3 separate regions of the Homo sapiens genome follow, and regions 1 and 3 are each linked to region 2. Evidence: promoter capture Hi-C in human tissues and cell types (Jung and others, 2019). All regions are on one chromosome and are shown on one strand. The core of a region is centred on a gene start or on the middle of the fragment in contact, and the rest is flanking DNA. Distances in the headings are between cores, read along the strand shown.

The links. The method cuts DNA at HindIII sites, captures the fragments that hold promoters and counts their contacts. A contact is called where the count stands out against the background at its distance.
Region 1: a contact is called between a fragment that was not itself captured here and the fragment with the promoter of HS3ST1 in region 2, in 1 of the 25 tissues and cell types used here (dorsolateral prefrontal cortex).
Region 3: a fragment that was not itself captured here is called in contact with the fragment with the promoter of HS3ST1 in region 2 in 1 of the 25 tissues and cell types used here (neural progenitor cells).

The regions. Positions count from the first base shown.
Region 1 is chr4:12,609,235-12,613,500 of GRCh38, forward strand. The region is part of intron 1 of LOC105374492 (a long non-coding RNA gene); the gene reads right to left. Among named protein-coding and RNA genes, the nearest start is that of LINC02270, 390 kb to the left of the region's middle. RefSeq lists enhancers at 1-458, 459-973. The HindIII fragment of the contact is 3,387 bases long and covers 1,077-4,266 here.
Region 2 is chr4:11,427,473-11,431,229 of GRCh38, forward strand. It overlaps HS3ST1 (heparan sulfate-glucosamine 3-sulfotransferase 1), which reads right to left and starts at 1,422. Exons shown (of 2, transcript NM_005114.4): 1 at 1,227-1,422. RefSeq lists an enhancer at 1,078-1,297 and a silencer at 1,388-1,567. The HindIII fragment of the contact is 7,575 bases long and covers 1-3,757 here.
Region 3 is chr4:10,174,618-10,178,494 of GRCh38, forward strand. No RefSeq gene overlaps it. Among named protein-coding and RNA genes, the nearest start is that of WDR1, 60 kb to the left of the region's middle. The HindIII fragment of the contact is 3,621 bases long and covers 278-3,877 here.

The DNA.
Region 1 (4,266 bases), core at 1,520-4,019, 1.2 Mb after region 2:
GAAAATAACCAAAAAGACAGTATGCACTAAGCACTTAAGTGAGCTAGCAGTTTGCACTCAGTCACAAAAATGAAAATAAAAGCAATATGAAAGGGAAGAACACTGACCTAGGAAGCAGAATGCATGCATCTGACTCCTTCTGGAGTGTGACTCCACATTAGTCACATTGTCCATCTGGCCTGCTGCCTTCAGCTGCACAAAATGTCAATGGTGTTGTTGAGAGGTGACAGCATGCTGGCAGCGCTCGCAGCCCTTGCTCGCTCTCGGCGCCTCCTCGGCCTTGGCGCCCACTCTGGCCGCGCTTGAGGAGCCCTTCAGCCCGCCGCTGCACTGTGGGAGCCCCTTTCTGGGCTGGCCAAGGCCGGAGCCGGCTCCCTCAGCTTCCGGGGAGGTGTGGAGGGAGAGACGAGGGTGGGAACCGGGGCTGCGCGCGGCGCTTGCGGGCCAGCGAGAGTTCCGGGTGGGCGAGGGCTCGGCGGGCCGCATTTAGAGCAGCCGGCAGGCCTGCAAGCCCCGGGCAGTGAGGGGCTTAGCACCTGGGCCAGCAGCTGCTGTGCTCGATTTCTCCCCGGGCCTTAGCTGCCTCCCTGCAGGGCAGGGCTCCTCGGGACCTGCAGCCCGCCATGCCTGAGTCTCCCCCACCTCCCCCCGCCCCTTATTGCTTCGATTATTTATCTGCATGTTTATAAGCTCTGGCATAAAAAAAAAAGGAAAAAAGGAAAGGAAAAGGGGGAAAAATAAGCAAATAAACTAAAACTTTCCTTTGCAAGTAGAAAATACCCCTTATTGCTTCGATTATTTCAAGCTTAGAATCTTTCAGAGTCCAGAGGCAAGCATGAGAGTCATAAAAGATGAGGTTTGGTTTATAAAACAAACTTCGTCCTGTATTTCAATCCATTTGATCTCACCAGAGTACCAGCTCGGAGGACATTGTTTTAAATGTTATTTGCTCACGGCCCAGGCAAACAGACTTGCCTCCCAAAGACGTTACCTTGTTAAGAAATACAAGACCTCCCTAATAAAATCCAGGTGATTTATAGCATGTACACAGAGGAAACAAATTTGGGGTAAAAATTGACAGTTATGCAAGTACATCAGAAGTGCCAGCCGCTGCACCGAGGTTCCCTCTGGAAAGGAATTTGCCCTCTCGCTGGGAACCATCTGCATAGGAGTGGGAAGACCCACTCTGAGGAAATCTCCCCGTACCTGCATGCTAAAAGAATCTAAACAGACTCTTCTAAAGTCCTCTTTCATGCAGCTAATAAGACAAATAGTACTTTTAAATATTAATTCAGAATAAAAAATAATTGAAAATATCAATAAACATTCAGTGTTTTGAAAATTAAGCTTGAGTACGCCTTCCTGTAGGCATCCTTCTCCGATCATGCCCCACACCCATATGAAATGGACGAAAGGCTTCTCCTGATGGTGTGTATCTATGAGAGCATTCTCTGCTTATTTTTTTTATAAAAACTGATACACTGTAATTTAATTATTGCTTTTATTTCTGTTTTGTTCTCTTATTTGAATGTGTATTATAAATATGTGGTTCAGCTTGTGATGTATAATAGGCACTTAATAAATTGTTAAAAGAATGAATGAATTCACAAAGCACTTGCACACACCTTTTCCCATTTAATGAGTACAATTATCCTGCCGAGTGAAAGCACAGAAAATTGTATTCGTACCCCACTTTTATGGAAGGGAGGGAGCACAAAAACTCAGGAGCATGAATTACAAAGATTACAAATCAAGACAATGGCAGAAGGAGTGCCTCAAGTTCTGCTGTCTCAAGCTGCCTTGACTGCACATAGGAGGACTGTGAGTTTCAGGTCTAGTGCCCGCGTCTCCTCGGACTGTAAACGATGTCAGGCACCTGGGCATTCCTAGTCTTGTGGCTTTGAAAAAAAATTGCTAGACCCTTTCTCAACATTATCTATCTGAAGTAAGTGAGTAAGTACAGGTGAAGGTGTGATAGAAAATGAAATCCCTAAATAAGATAACATGTCAGCCATTTATAATCCATGCAGAATGGTAGGGCCAAAAGAGCCATGCGTTCATTTTTTCAGGGGGAGTCTATTGGGAGGATAATGATCTCGTTTCCACTCCTAATACCCAACCTTCCCTAGCAATTTACTCTCCACATTGTAGCCAAATGACCTTTCCAAAAGGCAAATCTGGTGTTCCCTAACTTAAAATCTTTCAAGGGCTCCTGGTATTGCAAACCTTTAGTTTTGTCACATGATCCTATGATGGGGTCCCTGTTCAGTTCTCCAGCCTCATCAGGACCCAATCTCCCTACTGTGTACACGCTTGTATCATTGATCTTTTACACTTACTCAAAACAAATATGTAATGAACAGTAGATAAATATACACACATATATGCATATTTCCTATGCATTGTGCATAGTGTATGAGCAAATGTTAGGTCTTTTGCAAAATGAAATAGCTTACATGAGACATTATTATAGCCATTTAAAATAGCGCCCCAAATGTAAATTAGTTTAACCATTGTGGAAGGCAGTGTGACAATTCCTCAAAGTCCTAGAACCAGAAATACCATTTGAGCCAGCAATCTTATTACTGGGCATATACCCAAAGAATATAAATCATTCTATTTTAAAGATACATGCACGTGTATATTTACTGCAGCACTATTCACAATAGCAAGACATGCAATCAACCCAAATGCCCATCAATGATAGACTGGATAAAGAAAATGTGGTACATATACACCATGGTATACTATGCAGCCATAAAAAGGAACGAGATCATGTCCTTTGAAGGGACATGCATGGAGTTGGAAGCCATTATCCTCAGCAAACTAACACAGGAACAGAAAACTAAACATCGTATGTTCTCATTTATAAGTGGGAACTGAACAATGAGACCACATGGACACAAAGAGGGGAACAACACACACTAGGCCCTGGGGTGTGGGGGGAGAGTAGCAGGATAAATAGATAACATGTGTGGGGCTTAATACTTAGGTGATGGGTTGACAGGTGTAGCAAATTACCATGGCACATGTTTACCTATGTAACAAACTTGCACATCCTGCACATGTATCCCAGAACTTAAATTAAATTTAAAAAATAAGACAGTACCCACATATTCAATTATTTTCTTATTTAGGAAACATCTATTGAGATCTATAGCTATAATTATACTTATATCTATTTCTTACTTGGGAAAGCCTGCCTGACTTCTTAGAGTAATATAAATCTCTCTGTTCTAGTCTACTAGAGGACTCTAGGACTTCATAGTTCTTCTTTCATAAGACTTGTCAACCTTTTTCAATGTCTACCTCCACAATAGACCGTAAGTTCTGTGAGGCCAGAGAAACTGTTCACCTTATTTATCACTACTCAGAATTTAGTAGAGTTCCTGTCACATAGCAAGTGCCCAATAAATGTCTATTGGAGAAATAAATGATGAAGAGATGTATGAATGTAACCTGCTGGGCTTGGGTCGAGTGAGGGAGATAGACAACAGAAATACAGCGTGATTAGTGTGATCAATGTTGTGAAACAGGATGGACAGCTATGGCTTTGTCTTTGAAGCATTCAATTATTTTTCTCTTACTTGCTTGAAGAATCAGACTTTCCTCTCTACTTTTGGCACCACTGGTTCAGGTAGCCTGACCCCAAAGCTTTGTCCTCAGGATGTGCGTATGCTGAACAAGATATTTAAATTTACTTCTGGGACTTTGATAGGAACTAATAGGCAAGTGAGAGTTTCTTCCCTCTAGAGTTGTCTGGTGGTAGAATGTAAGCCTAGATCTGCAGGGAGCTATCTTTCGACCACACACGGAGAGTCCACCTAAGAATGAAATCAATATCCGTGAAGGAAGAATTGAGCTAGCAAAACAGAGATCAAATTTCAAAGACACTGCAGGAACATTTCTGTGAGGTCAGGCCTAAATTTAGTCAGCCTCTTGACTTTGTATTTTAATTAAATAGTCCACTTTAACTGAAATTAAATTTAACTTCAGTTAGTTTGGATTGAATTTTTGTAAGCTGCAATGAAAAATGTTTGAACTCATTTATCAAGGCAAGCACAGGAGGCAACAGAGAACTCCATTGCCTACAGGTGGGAGAGAGGGCTGTCACGTAGCAAGTGCCCAATGAATGTCTATTGGAGAAATAGTCTACATTGGGGAGGTTTTATTTTCTGAAAGTATTAACAACTCTAGTTTGGGTTAAGCTACACATAAATCTTAGCCCAAACTAGAATTTTTAATATTTGCAGACAATTCACTTGA
Region 2 (3,757 bases), core at 172-2,671:
GCGCAGCGCAAAGACAGTGGATTTGGAGTGGCCTCCCTAGAATCCCCCCAAAAGCATCTTGGCACAAGTTGTAGATAAAAATAGCTCATGATAACATTGTGGGAAAGGGAGGAGCGAGACTCGCGCAAGGCGAGGCAAGGGTACCACTGGATCTGCAAAGGAGGAGGAAGAGGGAGGATGCAACCCTTGGCCCAAGAGAGCGCCCTGAGTGTGCGAGGAATCGCTGGCTCCCAGGGGAGGGAAAGAGATGGAAGACCTATAGCGCCTATAACTGCAGAGTTATAGACCTATAACTGCAGAGCCCAGCACACCCCATCCCGCGCCGGCACCCGGCTTTGGCTCCAGCTTCTTCTTCCCATCATCCGCCTACGTTCTGGGTCTGTCCTCCGCTTCCTGGGACAGGCTGGGGCTAGAAGGAGGAGCAGCGCGCCGTCCGCCCCCTGGCTGGTAGAGCGCACCTGGAGAGGTCAAGCTCCGCGAATAAGACCCTTCCTGGGAGCTGGGGTCTAGGCGTTCCAACCGCGGGTTCGCACCCCGCCATCCCTCACCTCCATCCGCTGCCACTACCCAAGGGCCCGGAAATAGAAAACCACGAAGGGGGAAAAAAATCAGTAAAAAGTAACAAGAAAAAAATCAAGACCCTCATGTAATTGGCATTAGGGATGAGAGGTTTATTGTCAGGGCTGTCACCTCAATCTCTCTCTTTGGGAGATGCCTATCTCCAACCAAATGCAAAGGCAAACCCGACCAAGGCTTCTCCACCCCCAAAGGCTCCCTCAGCCGAGTTACTTTTGCGGGCTGTGTCCTCGCCCCAGTTTCTGGCCCCAGGTGGTACCCAGGATCCGTTGAGTGCTGCGCTCTCGCTGCCCTACAGGGTCCTATGGTGAAGCTGCGGTCGCGAAGCGGCCGGCAGGAGCGAACCTCACGACTCTGCAGGGGGGGAAAACATCCAACCCAGTAAGAGTCAGAAATCTGGGTCCCTGTCCTTACAGATCAACCGGTCCCTCGGGACTTCCAGAGCAGAGGTGCTAGGGCAGGAGGTGAGGAGGATGGGAAAATCCCCAGCCTTTGCTTCCTGGTTCCCTCTGCATCCACTCCACCTGCTCCAGCCTCGATTCTTCTTAGGTTCTGCACTTGCCCGAAGTCCAGAACGCCAGACAAAGGCACCTCGGAGCCCTCTACACCTGCGTCCTGCCACTCTCCCACCCCGCGCGCGCCGCACTCACCTGAGCCGCGCCTCTGTCCAGCCCGTCCGGCGCCCTAAATAGGCTCCTAGGCTGGGCCATGGGCAGCACTGCCGAGCACCCGCGGCGGGTAGAGCAAGTTTCTGGATGGCCCGGGGCAGGCGGGCGGGGAGAAGGCGCAGGCACCCACTGAGACCCGGCTGTCGTGGCGGCGACTCCTGGCTGCCAGGGCGCAGAGGACCTTGCAGGCGGGCGTTTTGGTGCTCAATCCCGAGGAGGGGGAGGAGCGGGAGGAGGAGCGGGAGCAAAAGGAGGGGACGGAGGAGGCCGGGCCCGGAGGGAGAGCGCGTTGGGCAGAGGAGGATCGCGAGCGCCCACTGCTGCCCGGCCCGCTCGGGTGCCGCCCAGAGTCCGGCCCGCTAGGTGCCTGGTGCTCCGCTCTGCGCTCAGCTGCTCCGCACAGCCCCGCCTGGCACGCAGCTCCAGCGGCTGGTCGGGTAGTAGTCGGTCCCGCCCACCCGGTGCGGTGGCCCCTGGGGTTTCAGTCCAAGGGGAGGGACCAGCGCTCCAAGAAGGTGAGGCTGCTGGGATGGGTGACTCCGCCGTCACTGCAAACACGGGACGTCCCGTCTACTCCCTTACGCCTGCTTGGTCTGAGCCCGAGTCTACCTCTTCTCTAAGTCGCCAGCTCGGCACTTGTACCCGGGACCTGTGCTCCTCCCACGTGAGTCTGCACCATGCGTATTCCCTTCCTGGCAGGTGACCCACCTTAGGCGCTGGCGCTCCTTCCGCCCCCCGGGAAGCAGGAGGTGCCATCCTCTCCAATTCGCTCTGCAGCCGGACTGGGACCGGAGCGGCGGCCTGGGCCAGAATCCGCGTGAGGAGCCGGCTTCAAAGAGCGCCCTGTCGCCATTGAACACTCCTTTTCCTTTGGTTTAGCGTCGGAGAGCGGACGCCAATTTGCCAGGAGAGCGCGGAAAATTCAGCTTTTTTTTTTTTTTTTTTTTTTTTTTTTTTCCGCTAGTGCACTAGGATTGCAAACGTCAGCTCTGAAATAAAAAGCAGGATATTTCTGCCCCGCTCCTCTATTCCGGAAGCTGGGAGGTTCTGTGGGAGAAAGGACCTGCACCCAATAACTCAATTTAAGATTTAAGGTTTTGAGGGGCGTGGGGTTGGAATCGCCTTGGAGAAACGGGTTTGCCTGCTTACCTGAGCCAAAGGAAGTTGCCCTCAAAGGCAGGTCAGCAATCATACCCCGCCAAAAGCAAATGCACATCAAAGTAACTTCCTTTAAATGAGATTACTGTAGTTTCCATGTCTTCCACATTAGTAAATAAATATTTGGAAGACTTCGAATTTGTGATTTACGTTTAAATATATTTCACCAACATTGTTTAATTAAAAAAAAATCCCATCTAAGAGAAGGTTCCTATAGGAAATTGGCCCTTTAACTCATACACAGATTACCCTCGGCACTTTCAGAAAACAACACAGTGACCAGTATATTCTGTCTTTTTGATACAGCCAGAAGCACCCTGAAAGCTGAGACCTAACTGTGCTTTTGGAAAATAAGCTTTTAGGAGTTGAATGACCTTGTCTACTTCTTTTAGTCAGAATAATGTTGGCATGTCTATTTTAGGTTAAAAAAAAATACAAATTCTAAAAAGTGACTTTAAAGGCCCACTTTGAAAGCCTTAGCATTTAAACTAACATTAGATTTAAAAGAAGGGCTTTTCTCCCCCATTATAGGAAGCTGTGTAAAATCATGTGTGAGGTTGTGAGGGTCAAATGGAAGTCTAAGATAAAGTTCTGCCAATTACTGGTGTCTTTAAGCTTCCACCAGCAGCCAAGCACAGTGCAGATCATGAGTCCTTCAAAATACGGGGTGGTTTTAATGCTCTAAGTTGGTATGATTACTTTTTCTAAAGAGCTCAAAGTGCTTTGGTGCCATAGTATGAATTTCATTACCCATTGTGAGACACAAAGGGGGTTAGCAATGATTCTGTTTGCACCCTGGAAGCCAAAGGCAGGTTACTCACCCACTTAGTTCCCTACCACAAGACCTTGAAAGAAACTGGAACCCCAGGTCTCCAGCCCAGAGATTTTGTTGGAAGTTTCCATTTGCAGGAAATGACTGCAGGGCACATGTGGGAAGTGACAGGAATTTGAGGACTAACATTTTAGTTTTCCTCATTTCTTTTTAAATCTGAGCAATTGTTCATTGATCGATAATCTATGTTCTTACATTCAGATAAATAAAAACACCAACTGGCTATTTTGTTCTTACTTAGTTTTATGTGTATGTCCAGGCATTTGCCACTGCTCCTAAATAGCTCTCCCTGAAGTCTTCTGGTCATGAGTTAGGTTTCTTATCCAGAAGCTCATGTAGTGCCAGAGCTTAGCTCTCCTATGACAACACAATCACATTATTGAAACATCTATTTAGGGATCTGTCTTCTCTAATAGATTATAAACGCCTTGAGCTTGGGTATCGTGATTTAATGATGAATCCTCCATGGTATCTGAATCCCAGAATCCTACAATCCTGCATGGTATCTGAAACATACTATGCT
Region 3 (3,877 bases), core at 838-3,337, 1.3 Mb before region 2:
GTGAGATTAGTATGGCTGGGTGAGAAGTCCTGCCAAGGTGCTGGCAGATCTGGGCTGTTGCCAGATGGACTTGAGAGCTCTATTCTGGGAGTAGATTTTTGGCAGGCTTTTTCCAGACTCGAGAGGGCCCTCAGCTGATATATGGTCTCAGTAATGGATCAGGCTCTACCATGTACCATGAAAGTGTCTTATGACCAATTTAGATCTCAACTTCATAGAAAGCTGTCACAATGAACTGAATGTTATGCATAGTCCAGGAGAGGGATTTTTTTCTTGGTCATAAAATGGTTTGTTAGGGAATCATGACTCTTCCCTTGTTATCTAAGTCCTTCAACTTCATACCTGTTACCCGTCTTTGCCTATGACTTAAACTGAAGTGTAGTAAAGTTATGTGCTTTTTGTGGGAGAAGTCCTAGGCCTCTCGCTTAGTGGTGTCCAGGTAGCTACTTAACCCCAAAGAACAATCTATACAATAAGACCTAGACTGGAAACACAAAGTTCTCTGTGAATCTCGTCTGAGATGGGTAATGTGGTGTGAGACCTTATGGCTGACAGGTGTCATAGCCACAGCTGGTTAGTGTCAGTTACTATAGACCCAGAGGTGCGTCTGTGCTTGTGAAATACTTGGAGGGAATTAGTATGTTATTGGCTTCTTTGGTTCCCTTATGCCTTTATGTCATGTCCCTTAATGGAAGAATTTGTACAGCTTTTCCTGTATTAAAAATAAAGAACTGGTATCATAACCTCTCCACACTTAAGGCCCTTCAGGGACTAAGACTTAGGCCTGACCTCAGCTCAGTGGCTGAGCTCATGGATCCCAGCCATGTTGAGCTGCAGAGCTAATCATACAATGCTAGAAGCACACTTGAAGGTGATGCGCCATCACCAGGTGGCTGGGTCCCAAGAGTCATCTTTTGCTGAGAAGCATGTGATGGGAACCTCTGGGCTCTGGGGTGTCTTCTGGGGCAAGCAAGCATTGGGGCAGGAGGTACAATAGTGCCTGAGCTACCCTTTGTACCTTCCTCTGCTCTGAGGATCCTAGACAACTTTGATCCATGTCAATGTCTTACTCGGCTTTTCAGACAACTGTGACCTTGGATTGCCCACTTGGCTATCTGTTATAAGTAAAACTTCCAGTTTGTTCTTTCACTCAATGTTTTGAAATCATTCATAAACTTCTCGGCTGTCATAAGGCCTCAGGAATCATTGGTATGAAGAATCTGGTTAGAGGGTATCGGAAGATACAATGACATAGCCATCAGAATGGAACCTTTAAGTCTGAATTCTTGGCCCTTAGAGCTTGGGCTATAATGTAGCCAGAGATCCATCTCATCCAAAACCAGACTGAAACACACGTTTCCGTATACCACTGTGTCTGAGTGATGCACGTAGGATCGTTTTCTGCTGGGATACGCACTGAACTGACAGCCTTGGTGAACATGAGGGAGATGGATGGACCCCAGTCTCTGCACCTAGTAGACCTTTGGTAGTTTACCCTGTTTCATGAAATGTGTGGCTCAAGTCTAGTTCTTTCACTGCGCACTGACACTGCCAGAAAAGGCCTTGGAACTTTCTGCAGTGGTTGTGTTGTTCATACTGCCTTGTGTGCAGGGGAGACTTAAGATAGAGGAAGGCTGCTCCCCTGACTAAAATGAGGTGCATTCTCAGAGGGGGCACCTGAATTTCCACTGGATGTGGGAAGCATTCCTCACCCAAGTCATACTACTTTAGATCCTGGATCTGAGTCATCCAGGACCCAACACTTGAGGTCTGGCCCCAGTGGAAAGTGATGGGAAGGTTGGTCCTCCAATCACAGCTTGCAAGATGTCCCTATGTGATCACTGTACCAGTGTCCATAGTAGGAGATGTTAACACCCAAACTCATTGTTGCTTATAAAGGTCTGTATATAGACACTAAGGTAAATGCGTAGCAAAAGGGCCAGGTGTTAGGGAACAGGTAGAAGGTGGACCAGTTCTCAGCTCCAGAAAACAAGCTTCAACAGTCATAGTGAGGCATCTGCATGCTTCAACCTGAATCTGAAATACTTAACACACTACCTATGCTCCCAGAATCCTCCAAAGTCCTCAAATTACATGTATATCTGATATCCACCTATCAACTAGATCAGAAACTTTTAATTGGATGCTCCTGTGTAATTTTTCATTGGGGGCTGTCCTGTGCACTGTAGGACTTTAAGCAGCACAATTTACCTTTTCTGCTAGGTGCCCATAGCAATTCCCTTCAACCCCTGAAGGGCTGTGATCAACATCTAGACACTTCTCCCTGGAAAGCAGAATTGACCACTTGAATACCTAACTAGGTTTCAAGAAACCATCAGCTGTCTTGGGGGTAGTTCTCTCATGGCACCTTCATGTGTGGAGTACTAGATGCCTGTGTGTTTTCTCCATGATCTTTGAAAGGTTGGAGAACAGACAATCTGAAGCTGAGCAATGCCTTCACAGAGGTGAACTCTCCCAGAAAAAATCCCTTCAAGGTAGCCCCTAGGGCCTGGGATTTAATTGTTCTCCTTTCCACGTTGAAGAATCCTCTTCACCACCGAGTCTTGGGATGCAATTGGCAGGTCCATACCCTTATGTCTTCACTGTGCGTGTCTTGGCATGGGCTTCTTACTGCTCAAGAGTCTGAATTGGACCATTCCCATAGGCCCCTCCACATATGAGTGTTCCAGATCTCTTCTATGTAATCATCTTCCGGGGTCTGACCAGTCAGTCCATTTTCCAATATATGGGACCAATTATCCTCAAATCCCTTATCCCGTAAGAGATGATCAAGTTTATTGATTGAACTTCTGCCAAATGAGAGGATTTTTTCCCCAATGACGACTTAGGGTGCCCTCAGAGAAGCTTTAGTGTCACAACAGTTTATACTCGGCTATCACATATTGAGTCAATCATCCATAAACCAGAACTTTACCCTTTGCCAGTTGGTCATAGAGATCTCCCCTTGAGGCTACAGGTATGAGCTGACAGATGCAGGTACTACAGAGCTTGAGGATGATGGGAGTCTGAGCCACCTAGTTTTGTGATTTAAATGTAGTTCTATGTTTATTTCCCTCACAACCTTGTTGTGCCCATGGAGCTTCTGCCTCTATGGGTCTCACAACACCCAGATCAGGCTAGGAAGTTCTAAAAGTTACTAGCTGTCTCATGGCCAAGAGCTCAGTCTCCAAGGCTCAGTAACATGGTTGAAGCTGACCTGAAGGGTAATCAGCCTTCTACTGGCAGACTTAGGCTAGAATCTTAATGGTCTGTAGTATTTTTACTAAAGTATCCCCCAGATGCCTCCCATGACCACCTCCTACCATGGATCTAATATGAGAGGCAAGGCAACATTTTAGAAGGCCAAGATTAGCTGCAGGGCCCTCATCTGATGAGGCCTCTTCAAAACTTATACCTGTTGGAGCCCACTAAAAATGGCTTACAGTAGTTAAGTGTGATACGCTGTATCAAATTCACAAACTCCTATTTTGAAAGTACACTGTTTATGGTAGGAGATAATCCAAGGAACTGTCCTTGAATTTGAAAGTTGGAAGTGATGTCCCTGCATGCCCTAGATACTTAAGCATTGTGGATAGACCCCTGAGTCTTGGTAGGCTTTCCCCTCCCTCTGGCACTTGGGTATGCTCCAGAGCACTGGCTGCTTCCTGATGGGTCTGACTTATGCCAATAATAAAGTGGCCCAGCGAGATCTCCTGTGAGATGCCAGCAAAACCAAGACTTCAGCCTATGACATTAGGACAGACCAGTAGAGTTAATACCGCCTGAGGACAAGACAATGTGTATTCCTGGCCTTACCATGAATAAGCCAAACTGAACTTGGAACCTCAATGAGGAGGATTTGAAAGAATGGATTTTC